Regions from separate parts of the Homo sapiens genome. Here region 1 is linked to region 2. Evidence: promoter capture Hi-C in human tissues and cell types (Jung and others, 2019). All regions are on one chromosome and are shown on one strand. Each heading gives the region's core, a stretch centred on a gene start or on the middle of the fragment in contact. The rest is flanking DNA. Distances are from core to core; before and after follow the strand shown. Region 1 overlaps MED13 (mediator complex subunit 13). Region 2 holds the start of HEATR6 (HEAT repeat containing 6).

Region 1 (7,082 bases), core at 3,086-5,585, 2.0 Mb after region 2:
AATAAAAGCAAAGACATGTATTAAGAGTTACACATGGTTTATATGCACAATTTATACAACAAATGGGTAGAATAAACATTAACTAAAAAGTATGATAGTGGACTTTAACTGCACTAGAAATTCTGTGCCACTACAAAGATTAATGTTGGTTTTATATTTTCTCCTAAATGATAGTCAAGTCTTTCAAAGCAACTAATTTTTTTTTAAATTTTATTTTAAATAAGCTTTAGGCTGGGCGCAGTTACTCACGCCTGTAATCCTAGCACTTTGGGAGGCTGAGGTGGGCGGATCACCTGAGGTCAGGAGTTCAAGACCAGCCTCGCCAACATGATGAAAGCCCATCTCTACTAAAAATACAAAAATTAGCCAGGCGTCATAGTGCAGCCCTGTAATCCCAGCTACTCGGGAGGCTGAGGTGGGAGAATCACCCAAGAGGGAGAGATTACAGTGAGCCAAGATCGTGCCACTGCACTCCAGCCTGGGACAGAGTGAGATTCAGTCTCCAAAAAAACAAACAAACAAAAAAAAAGGTAAGCTTAGGGAAAAAAAAGTAGAATAAGCTTGAGAAAATGACAATATTTCAGAATTGGTATAGAATAATTTTTTAAGTCTAATATTAATCATAAATATTAAATAGGAAAAATTCACATTCTATTATATCAAAGACACCGTTATCTACTTCCATTTAAAACCAAAACGTTTATGGGTTTCACTTCATTAAAGAAAGTATTAGGCTAGGAGAATAGAGAAGCAGCACAAAGTGACTTCACTTTAATTAATTAAAGGTCTAGATCACAAGCATATTTGTGAGTTGATGACAAAAAAAGAGAAAAGAATCTCAATTGATCTGCTTTCAATTTAATGAGGTCCTACCATTTCAAAATTAAATAGCTACATTAAGACTTTTACCTCAAATTATGAGACTTATGACTACTAGAATATACATGTTCTTAATTCCAACAGAATTATGTTAGGAATATCTTCCAATTCTTCACCTCTTTACAATCAATTTAGTATCTTTTATTTTTATTACCTTTTATTTCAAAAATCCCTACCTTCTGATGGTTGTAACACTTGTTCTACATAAGAAACCACTACCAACATATTTCTCCTAAGTTTTAAAGCATCAAAGACCCAAGACACAGTTACCATTTGTAAGTATCAAGGTTGTACAGTTGTTATAAACTTCAAATAAATTAGTCATTTAAAACTAGAAAATGACTTTGTCTCCTTCGCAAAAATAGTAAATAAAAAAATCTGCTTTCTGGGAGGCTGAAGCCAGGTGTGGTGGCTCACGCCTGCTATCCGGGAGGCTGAGGCCAGGTGTGGTGGCTCATGCCTGTAATCCCAGCACTTCAGGAGGCCAAGGCAAGTGGACCACTTGAGGCCAGGAGTTCGAGACCAGCCTGGCCAACATGGCAAAACCCCATTTCTACTAAAAATATAAAAATTAGCCATGCATGGCACGGCTGTAGTCCCAGCTACTCAGGAGGCTGAGGCATGAGAATCACCTGAGCCCAAGAGATGGGAGTTGCAGTGAGCTGAGATCACACCACTGCACTCCACTGTGGGCGACATAGCGAGACTCTGACTCAAAAAAACAAAAAAAAAAACCTTTGCAATAGTAAAAGCTAAAGCACAATTTATAAATTTTCACATGAAATTCTGAAAATTTTATGGTTTTATTTTGTAAAATCTATTTTAGTTAAACTTGCAGTCAAATGATTTAAGAATATTTAATGTGAGGCCATGTGCGGTGGCTCATGCCTATAATCCCAGCACTTTGGGAGGTCGAGGCAGGTGGATCATCTGAGGTCAGGAGTTCAAGACCAGCCTGGCCAACATAGTGAAACCCCATCTCTACTAAAAATACAAAACTTAGCTGGGCGAGATGGCATGCACCTGTAGTCCCAGCTATCCGGGAGGCTGAGGCAGGAGAATCACTTGAACTGGGTGGCAGAGGCTGCAGTAAACCGAGATCACGCCACTGCACTCCAGCCTGGTGACAGAGCAAGACTCCATCTCAAAAAAAAAAAGAATATTGAATGTGGTTTAGAAAAGTAATCAGTATTAATCTTGAAGCATTTCTCCCTCATTATTCTAATGCTTTCAGAGGGGGTGGGCATCTTATGTCCCCAGTGCCCACAATTCTCATTAACACTAAATAGGAGCTATGCATAAAACAAACAAGTAGAGACCACCTGTTGAGGTTTTCTAAATCCAACGTATCTCTGAAGTATGTCCTCATCTATATGGCAAGCAACTAAGCAACCATTACACTAAAGTAATATAATTTCATATTTTGTTGCTGAGAAAAACGAGAGTAAGTCCTAATAACGCTCAATAAAGTCTGAAGGTTTTTGGTTTTGTTGGGAATCACTTAGAAACAAGAAGCCTACTGAGCCAAGTTTCTAATATCCTGACAATCTAATAACTGTAATAAAAGTACTTTCTACACGTTGTATTCAGATACGAAAAGTGAAATGGTACAACCAACCCACTCAAGGCATAGTGATATGCACTATTTACACTAATTGAAACAAGTTCTTGAATCTCAACACCAGCATTATAATAGGGAGGGGAAGGAGAAGGGAACATATGGCAAATCTTTACCTATCTCTTTTGAACTTAACCAGAGCCTAATAGAAAAAGTCTGCTTAATCTATATAACTATTTTCCTCCTCTAGCCAGGTGCAATGACTCATGCCTGTAATCCCAGCTACTTGGGAAGCTAAGACAGAAGGATCACTTGAAGCTAGGAGTTCAAGACTAGCCTGGCAATACAGGAAGACCCTGACTCCAAAAAACTTTTTTTAGTTAGTAGGGCATAGTGGCAATGCCTGTAGGCCCAGCTGCTGGGGAAGCTGAGGTGGGAGGATTGCTTGAGTCCAGGAGTCGGAGGCTGCAGTGAGCTATGATTAAGCACTGCAGGCTGAGTGAGACAAAGTGTGACCTCCATCCCTACAAAAAAAAGAAAAAAAAATTCCTTCTCTTGTAGCTCTATGTCCAGAGAAAATAAAGTTCAACTCTGCATTCTTAGTACTTTTCTGTTACTATTAGCATTACAGTTCTTAATCATCAGTGTTTCTTGAAATTTTTATGGACTATTTATTGGAAGAAAACACAAATGCTAAATTTGATTACCATATTTTTTTCCTGAAGATGCAGATTACAGTAGTGCCAAAGTATGTGATAAGTCATCAAAATAATTCTCTATCAATGGGGAAAAAAAATCACAACCAAAAAAGCAGACACACCCTGCACTCAACATTTTTCTCAAAAAAATGGCATCTTTAAATATCTCCACGGTGGTAAAAAATGAATCTTCTCCAATACAATTTTGCAAAACTATTAAAATGTAACATATGCTAATGAATAATGGCTCAAAAATTAACATGGTAGAAAATACCATGTATTTCCTGAAATAAAGAGAAATGTTTAAATGCTAGATCAGTGTTTCTCCTGAATAATCATTAATAACCTATACATTCAACAAATATACCGAGAGCCTTAAGTTGGCCGCATCATTATCTATGGCAAAACTTGAAAACTGATTTAAAAACAGCCTAGTATGTTATGTTTGGCTTGAAAACTTAGAAGATACACTTGATCAAAAAAACAGTATGCAGAAGAAATACAGCAAATGAAGTTGTCACCTAGGAGACTAGCCAATTTAAAGAGTCGGGCCACATCACAAGTAAATTTTACAATAGTAGAAATAAATTACTCTCTTTAGACTATGTGGGGCACACAACAATGTTTTAGTTTGGCTGGGACTAGATTCCTATGCCTGGCTGTTTATCTATCTGTCAATCCTATTAACAGCTGTCATTTAAGGTTAAAGTCCACTACAGTTAATATCCTTCAATTAAAACATCCAAAATTAAATTCAGAACAATAGTCCACTTAGTTTGAGCACTATTCATTATGATAAAATTCTGGTATAATAAAACTATCTGAACATGTTACTAAAATCTACTTTACAGACCTCAGGAGCCAGGAAAAAGAACAAATATTTTTAGCCCTGAGTTTTTTTAGTTCACAAGGTATCAGTTTTCTCAAAGAGTCTCATCACAGTCTAACTTGCTATGATTTTTTTAAGATGACAAATGGGAGAGGACGCAGTGTTTGCTTTTATTTTTATTTAAAGGGAAAGAATAAAAGCCAATGATGACAGCAATTGAATTCCAAAAATGTTAGAACACAGAATAAAAATACACAGAAAACTCTCCTTCAAGACCACATTAATGAAAATGATACAATCTTGCTCTGAAGCAAATTAACAGTACACTTAAAAGTACCAGTCCTACCCACCACAGAGATTCTTGACCAGAGGGACTGAGCTAAGATTTTCCCATCACCCATTTTATACCTCTTTCACCCACTATCACACAACCACTAAACAAAGCTACAAAATACAATTTTTAAAAAAAAGGGGCCAGGCATGGTGGCTCATGCCTGTAATCCCAGCACTTGGGGAGGCTGAGGCGGGCAGATCACCTGAGGCCAGGAGTTCCAGACCAGCCTGGCCAACATGGCGAAACTCCTATTAAAATCTCTACCAAAAATACAAAAATTAGCCAGGCGTGATGACACATGCCTGTAGTCCCAACTACTCGGGAGGCTGAGGCAGAAGGATCGCTTGAACCTGGGAGGCGGAGGTCGCAGTGAGCCAAGATCGCCCCACTACACTCCAGCCTGGGAGACAGAGCGAGACTTCATCTCAAAAAAAAAAAAAAAAAAAAAAGAAAGAAAGAAAGAAAAAAGCTGTAACCCCAAAGGAGTTTTATTCCCTAATCCTTTTTGTATCAAAACATATCGACCCCGATTCAACTAATCATTATCCTATAGAGGATAAAGCAAAAAGTAAGAAAATCATCTATGTTTGGCTTTGGAATTCAAGAGATTTTTTGAACAAATAACCTTCTGGAATGTTATAGTTTGGCTAATACTAGTTAGCACAAATCCTGATCCAAAAATCATCCAGCCTTTGCAAATTACTTTGCTCAACGGTATTGACTTACTGCTACAAAATGAGTAACTGAGGGTTTAAAGTATGTATTAAATCAGACGTGATTTGCTGTAACTGATCTTTGCCAGTTAGCAATAAAATAAGTTTACATTCTATTTCTACACATCAGCTAAACTTGAAAGGAAGGTAACCCAAACAAATGCTAAGTGACATAAGAGAAAATGAAATTTAAAATGCACTATGGAATCTGAACAGATTCTTCAGAACTGTCGAAATCATCAAAACCAAAGAAAGTCTGAGAAACTGTCACAGTCTAACAAAGCCTAAGGAGACATGACAATTAAATGTAATAGGGGTATCTTAAATGAGATCCTAGAAAAGAAAAACATATTAGGCAAAAAAATAAAGGAAATCCAAATATATACTTTAGTTAATAATAAAGTATCAATATTGGTTCATTAGTTAATTTTTAAAAATACACTGCATGACACAAAGGAGCTAAGGGGGTTAAACAAAGGCAATTCTGTATTTCTGTTACTGAATATTCCAGTTAAGAAAAACTGAGAATTCTAATCTTTGAAAAAAGAAATGCTTTCCCTCTTCCCTCACTACCAAGAAAAACAAGGGCAATATTATCACCATAATAAAAAACACTTCAGTAACAAGATGTGGTGTGTGCTGAACCAAACAGAAGGACACTGCCTGTGAAGAGCAGGCTCAAGCTAAATTAACCAGCTTTTTAGTTACCACCTGGGTCCTTCCGGTACCCCATTCCTCAGTGCTACACCTCCACTTGGAACTCAGGACTGCCTCCAGCAGCTGATGCTACCCTGTACTGTCCAGCTGCTCTCTTCTCAGGGGAGCTTAGAAGAAGGAAATAGAGTGCCACAGATGGAAGAAATGAAAAAGGGGTTAGCTAGAGAGACAGAGGCAGACTAATTACCCCAAGAGGGAGGTAGACGCTGTCCCTAGAGCAAAGAAAAGGGCAAGACAAATATATTCCATCTGAAAAAACCTTATTATGCTTTAAGATACGTCTGATTTAAGTAACAACATTCTTAAGTAAATAACAGGTTTTATTTTTAAGAAAAGCTAAAATATTATATAAATAACACTGACTATGCAAACTAAAACAGTACAGGACAAGCTTTGGAACAATAAATATGATCATATACCACTCCTAATTGTATTTCAGTTTATTATTTCAATCACTTCACTTTGATAAATTTTTAAGTTATTTACGGCCAGGTGCAGTGACTCACGCCTGTAATCCTAGCACTTTGGGAGGCCGAGGCGGGTGGACTGTCTGCGCTCAGGAGTTCGAGACCAGCCTGGCGAACACGGTGAAACCCCATCTCTACTAAAAATACAAAAAATTAGCCGAGTGTGGCAGCATGTGCCTGTAATCCCAGCTACTCGGGAGGCTGAGACAGGAGAATCGCTTGAACCCAGGAGGTGGAGGTTGCAGTGAGCTGAGATTGCGCCACTGCACTCCAGCCTGGGCGACAAAGCAAGACTCCATCTCAAAAAAAAAGCTATTTACCATTCATTAGCATTCAGTAAAGTCTGACAGCAGTTAAAACCCTACCTCCTGCCTGTAATCCCAGCAGTTTGGGAGGCCAAGGCTGGCGGATCACAAGCTCAGGAGATCGAGACCATCCTGTCTAACAGTGAAACCCCGTCTCTATTAAAAATACAAAAAATTAGCCGGGCGTGGTGGTGGGCGCCTGTAGTCCCAGGTACTCAGGAGGCTGAGGTAGTAGGAGTATGGCATGAACCCAGGAGGCAGAGCTTGCAGCAAGCAAGCTCCACTGCACTCAGAGAGCGAGATCACGCCACTGCACTCCAGCCCGCGGGACAGAATGAGACTCCGTCTCAAAAAAAAAAAAAAAACCAACCTCCCAAAATTATTTTCATTCACGTTCAAGATCACTATCTATTTTTTTTTTTGAGACAGAGTCTCACTCTGTCGCCCAGGCTGGAGTGCAGTGGCAAGATCTCGGCTCACTGCAACCTCCGCCTCCTGGGATCAAGCAATTCTCCTGCCTCAGCCTACTGAGTAGCTGGAACTACAGGTGCGTGCCACCATGCCCAGCTAATTTTTGTGTCT
Region 2 (6,278 bases), core at 1,634-4,133:
CCTATCATACCTACTACAGATGTAGTATTTCAAAGGTATTTACTTACTCTCAAAGTTCATGATCTGAATTCTAGAGTTACATACATGATTACCTGTAATCTGTTAAGTAAATGGTGGATAAGCTGGCTCACTTTGCTGACAAGATGATTCTGATTAAGAGGTACCAGTCGGCAAGCCTGGACAAGAAGAGCACTAACGTCCTACCAAAAAAAAAAAGATAAGAGGTAAAATACTTATTAGTCAAGTGAAGATCCTCAAAACACAGCCAAATGGGAAAATAAAAGTAAATATTCACATTCAAAATGGGGAAAGAAAATGTGAGGCAGGAAGGAAAAAAATGAAGTGATAGCACAAAAACAGCATGTGCTAAAAAAGAAGGAAAAAGCCAGGCACAGTGGCTCACACCTAATCCCAGTTCTTCCGGAGGTCAAAGCGGGAGGACTGCTTGAGCCCAGGAGTCCAAGACCAGCTTGGGCAACATAGTGAGACTCCATCTCTACAGAAAAAACTTTTTTAAAAAAATTAGCTGGATATGGTGGTATGTAGTCCCAGCTTCTTGGGAGGCTGAGGTGGGAGGATGGCTTGAGCCCAGGAGTTTTAGGTCACAGTGAGCTATGATCTTGCTGCTGCACTCCAGTCTGGATGACAGAGTGAGACCTTGTCTCTTAAAAAAAAGAAAAAAGAAAAAAAAAGGAAAAGAATCAGTACGGTTTTGGTCAGGCTGAAGACTCTGTGCTCTCTATATGTAAAGACAGTATAATTAAATAACCAGAAAAAGGCTTCTAGGGTATGAAAGCACAAACTGAAGCTAAAAATATCAAAAGGTAAGTGAACCAGATTTTCAATGCCATTGGGAAAAATCAGACCTAACACTTCTATGGATTTTATGCATAATTAGGGAATTCTTAAAAAAAAAAAAAAAAAAAGAGGGACCTATTTGCAAGTCACACTCTTCATCCATCGATGTTTATAGAATGACAAGGTTCTGAGCACCTACTATGTGTCATAGTGTGCTAGGTCTTTGGGCTCCAAAGGTAAAACAAACATGTTCCTGAACCTCAAAGAGCTCACAAACTAGTGAGAGAGAAAGAAACACAACAAATAATTAAAATAAGGTGAATCAAGTGCTGAAAGAATAAAGTACAAACTCTGTCCAGAAACAGTAATTAGGGAGGCCTTGTGGAGGTGACTGTAAAGCAGAATCTGGAATGATTTGAAGGATGAGGAGAAATTTGCCAGATAGGGCATCAAAAAACACTGCAAGCAAAGTGGACAGAGTATGCAAAAACCTGGAGGTGTGAAACACTAGTAGGTGCCTGAAGAACAGCAAGTTTTAAATGGCTGCACACAGGAACAAAAGGGGGAGTAACAGGAGAGAATGGAAGTTTTGTTGCAAAAGTATCCAATTACACAAATACAGCAAAAGTCCCCGACTACTGCCTTAATCTCACTCTGCTTCCTAATGACATACACTATTATTCTGTAGTCAATTCTTTCAGACCTTTTACTTTGCATATATAAACACACATATTTTAAAATCCCTCCTCCAGCTTCATACTGATCTCATTCTGTATGAATTGTCCTGCAACTTGCTTCAACCATTTACCAATACGTATTGAAGACTTTTCCAAAGCAGATTTTAAAGTTTATGAACAATTTTTTTTCCTCCTAAAGAAAAGATCATTCTGGCATTGGAGGAATGACTGGCTTGGAGAGGAGCTAGACAGGAGGCAGGAGATCAGTCAGAGGGGATCAGCGAACAGTCCAGGCATAAGTCGCCTTGCCTGAGGTCTAAGGCACTCGCTATGGGAATAGACAGGAGGGGATGAACTGAGAAATATATATGAGACACATTCTGAAATACCTGAGTTGGTCAGGATCTGGGATGAAGGAGGGAAGAACCAGTGTTTGTGTCTGGTGTGACTTGGTGGATGATGCATGTGTGTTGGAAGGTGGGATGGACTGGGGACGGGAATGCGTGTTTGGAGCTAATGAATTTCATCTTTAGGAACTGTCTAGTTTGAGATGCCTGTGCAAGCAGGCAACTTGCACCACTTCCCTCTTTCCTACGTAGGGCCAGAAGGCCATGGTGTCAACAGTTCAGAGAATTCATTAATTTAAGGCCTGATGTGTGTAAGATTACTCAGAAAGACGGCAGAGGGGAGGAGCTAGTGTGTAGGAACAGAAAACATAGGGGCTTTGTGGCAGAGTTTTGTATACTGTATTTTTACGAGCTTCAGTATTTTCATTAGCAAACAAGCCCTAATACTACGCAAGTTCTAAGATTCCCACGTGGTCCGTGTACCATGTACGCAATAAACAGTAGTAATGCATTTTGTCAACCAAGTGTTCTGGGTGCACAGAGAGGGAGTGAAGGAGGGTGCGGGCGGATGGAAAGTTGGTATCAGAGAGGAAACCCGAGGCATTATCAGAGCAGGAGTCGTCAAGTTGGGTTTTGAATGACTCGAGCGTGCCAAGCACTGCAGGGTCTTCCAAATGGAGAACTAAGAATGTGCCAAGGTTGGAGGGGGCACGCCATCCTGAAACTAAATCATCAGGCGCGAGAGTGGGAAGATCAGGGAAAGGCAGGCAGAGGCCACCAGCTGGGTTCCCGGAGGGGTGGGGCCGGGGCCGGGGCCAGCAGGGCGCGCCGCCTACCTCCGGGGCCACGCCACTGCCCTCGCTGTAGTTCTCGGAGATGAGCTGATCGAAGAGCAGGTGGATCTCGGTGCGGGCGGAGCTGCTGTCATCCGGGCGCAGGGCGCAGAGCCTGGCAGACAAGAGGCGAAACCCATTGCCTCGCTCAGGGATTGCTTCCCGCGGTGCCTCCCGCGGCTGCACGGAAGGCCACGAACCGACAACTTGCACAGCAGCCATCTTTTCTACGGGCGGGGGGGGTGGGTGGGGTGATCCCAGGGAAATACTTCCGGGACATCCTCCCGTTCCGCGCGCTCTAGTTCCGAAAGTACCTTTTTTAGACCGGACTGGGGCTCAGAGGGGTTTCCATGACTACGGGACTCCTCCGACCGGTACCCTGCAGATGCTTGTCAGAAATTGGCTTGGAGGCCGGGCTCGGTGGCTGACGCCTGTAATCCCAGCACTTTGGGAGGCCGAGGCGGGCGGATCACGAGGTCAGAAGATCGAGACCATCCTAGCTAACACGGTGAAACCCCGTCTCTACTAAAAATACAAAAAAAAAAAAAAAAAAAAAATTAGCCGGGAGTGGTGGCGGGCGCCTGTTGTCCCAGCTACTCGGGAGGCTGAGGCAGGAGAATGGCGTGAACCCGGGAGGCAGGGCTTGCAATGAGCCAAGATCGCGCCACTGCACTCCAGCCTGGGCGACAGAGCGAGACTCCGTCTCAGAAAAAAAAAAAAAGAAAGAAATTGGCTTGGAGATTTTTCGCCGGCCACTCCTTCTTGAGCCCTGACTGAAAAGTGAGTTCTCAATTTGTGCTTCCAGAAAGTTTGTCCTCCCAGAGTTTGTTCCTGGACAGGGCTGAAGGTACTCTGTTCCGTACTAGAGTTTCAGATTCGGGCTGGAGTTGGAGAGGGTATGCTGTGGATGGCAGTAGCAGAAACCGCTAGTTCTAAGGCACCCTTCTACTCTTCTAAAATCTTTCCCCAGGCACAAAACCACCCGGAATAAAGGCTACGTTCCCTAGCATTCCTTGCAGTTGGCTGTGGCTCTGTGATTGCAATCTGGTCAGTGGAATATAAGGCAGCTTTCCCTACTTAAGTGACAGCTGGCTGTACTCTTGGTTCCTTTTTCTCCCTTTTTCCCAGTGTGAATCCTCTCATGGATCATGAGGCACCTCGCCCCACTAGAAGAGTAATTTTGGAGTTTAACTGAATCATGTAAAATATAATCTGCCTAAGAGTGACCGGGTTGAAATGAGACACCCCAAGATTTTCTGAAACCTTGAAGTCAAGAAGCTGGAGAATAAAATGGCCATTTAAAAATCTGTGATCACTTTTCAGTCATCCAGGAAGTGAAGGCTTGACTTTCACAGTTGGGCAGATTGGGAAAACCATCTCTAGGGCCTTTGAGTTATGCAAATATAAAGCAAATCCTCACCCTTGGCCCTTAGGGAAAACCTTGAAGTCACCTGAATGTATGTTTTATCCTGAGAACAAAACATTTCTGTTCAGCAGTGAAAATTGGGGGTATGCTTTAGCAGAGGTAGTTTTCTGAAGACTTTGGGCTTGGGGAGAAATGTTAATTTTTTTGTTTGGATTTAGATTCCGTTGTGCTGGTATATTATTTCTTATTCCTAGTCTGTGTACATATGTGCGTTATATATGTGCATGTGTGTGTGTGTATTCGTGTAAAGAAATGTATTCAAGCATTTGTTCAGAGAAGATCAGGAGCTGAAACCTAGTCGTTGGATATTTTAATCTGGGTTCCCTGATAGCAGAGCCTCAGATGAGGTTGATAGGTGAGGGATTTATCCAGAAATGAACAGGGAAGGAAGGAGAATTAATACCAATATGTGCTATTGAGTTGGCCATTGCAAGGGGTGACTGATTGTTCAGTCCTCAGGAGTTTCTGAGAAGCCTTGTGAAGCTCTCAAAACCCTTCTTCTGAGGAACAGAGAGGAAAAGCATTTATCTGTCAGCTTTTGAAGTCTATTGTCAAAAGTTGACCACAAGGCATTAATTCACTGGTGTTCCTGTGTTGAGCATGCATCTGTGCTTGGTTCCTGGAGGAGTCCTATGTTGCATAGTCAAAGAAGCCCTGAGGCAAAAGTGAGGAAACTAGGTGCATATCTGAGGCAAGGCTCTCACCAGTTATACCTGTGCTAAGCTAGTAGATGCCTGTGATAAACTAGTTGCTGTAGCAATGGCTAGAGTAAGAATGTAAGACCAAGAGTATGTGAAGTAGTACTAAAGAGCTGTCTTACACATTGGGCTAGAAGGATGTGAGGCCTGGTCATTTCCACAATGCACGTTCGAAGAGACTGGAAAGGATCTGGGTTTGGTGTGGTTCACTTTAAGTTGCAATATGGATGACCTACATATTGTGTTATTCAGGGTGGAATGGCCCAGGAATTGTAAAATACAGTATACTGATGCCGGTCTGTTCAGTTCTGGTAGAATATACTGTTTTGGATCAGTGTGGTTCCTTTAAGGAAATGGACATCCCTACTCTGCAGTGATCACCAACTGAAGGAAACGTATCTCAAGCTCTGAGGGAGGCCTTTGAAGGCACCCTGCATTGGCTTGAGTTTAGACAGTAGCACTCCTGCTCCCACCTCCCACCCTGAAACTGTGGAAACACAGCATGGCAAAAGCTCTCTTCCAAGAAAATCTTCTGTCTCCTCCTCAATTCTCTGCATTTTCATAGTCCTGCAGTGACTGAGGGGCTTTAAGGGGTGCTAAGCACGTTCACAGCCATTTCCTTTGTTAGATTCTGCATCGGATGATCTGGAACCTCAGTGGAATTTCACTCCTTTCATGTGTGGAAACCTCTCAAGACTTCACTTTTATCCCTTCATGAGCGTCTGGGTCATCCTAACTCACGTAGGCTTGCATACCCCCACTTCACTCTAATTCACATCTTTGATTATTTCCTTCGGAAAATTTACCATAACCTGCAGTTATCTTGTTTATTTGATGACTTTATCATCTGTTTTCCCCTCTAGAATATTAACTTTATGAAGGCACAGTTCCCGTTTGTCTCATTCGCTGTTGTATCCCAGGGCTAGCACAGCCCCTGGGATGTGGTAGATGCCCCACAATATTTGTTAACAGAATGAATGAATTCACTAATTTTTTATTCAGGGTCCCCTATTTGCCACCGGTTGATGTGAAAATCGAATGGGATTTTTGTGAAAATGCTTTGTAAACTATAAAGTTTTATAAGTCTTAGTATCAAATGAGGTAGATATTATTTCCCCCTTTTATAGTTGGGAAAATGGTGCCGAAGAGTATAAATGGTTGGTCAAGGCTGCACAGGCAGCAAATTGGTTGAAATCAGATTGCAGCCCAGGCTGGCTGTGATTGTGAAGAACATAGACAAGAAATTATAAACCCATTGTTTTTTACCTCCCACATTTTGTAATGGGGAAAACCAGAAGACAGGAGCTTGATTTCGGTATCCAGATTACACTTTGAACCAGGAGAGGCTAGGAAGGAGGATTGGCCTTGAGTTCTGTTTCAGGGTCATCAGCCTATCTATGTGATTACATAGGAGTCCCCCCTTATCAGTAGTTTCACTTTCAGCCTTTTCAATTACCCGTGGTCAATCACAGTATGAAAATATGAAATGCGCTGGGCGC

The links. The method cuts DNA at HindIII sites, captures the fragments that hold promoters and counts their contacts. A contact is called where the count stands out against the background at its distance.
Region 1: a fragment that was not itself captured here is called in contact with the fragment with the promoter of HEATR6 in region 2 in 1 of the 25 tissues and cell types used here (hippocampus).

What each region holds. Positions count from the first base shown.
Region 1 is chr17:62,053,796-62,060,877 of GRCh38, forward strand. The region is part of intron 2 of MED13 (mediator complex subunit 13); the gene reads right to left. Among named protein-coding and RNA genes, the nearest start is that of MED13, 7.9 kb to the right of the region's middle. The HindIII fragment of the contact is 7,913 bases long and covers 380-7,082 here.
Region 2 is chr17:60,076,038-60,082,315 of GRCh38, forward strand. It overlaps HEATR6 (HEAT repeat containing 6), which reads right to left and starts at 2,884. Exons shown (of 20, transcript NM_022070.5): 1 at 2,659-2,884; 2 at 93-200. The coding sequence starts at 2,877. It overlaps HEATR6-DT (HEATR6 divergent transcript), which reads left to right and starts at 3,272. Exons shown (of 2, transcript NR_135648.1): 1 at 3,272-3,435. RefSeq lists a silencer at 2,541-2,670. The HindIII fragment of the contact is 14,340 bases long and covers 1-6,278 here.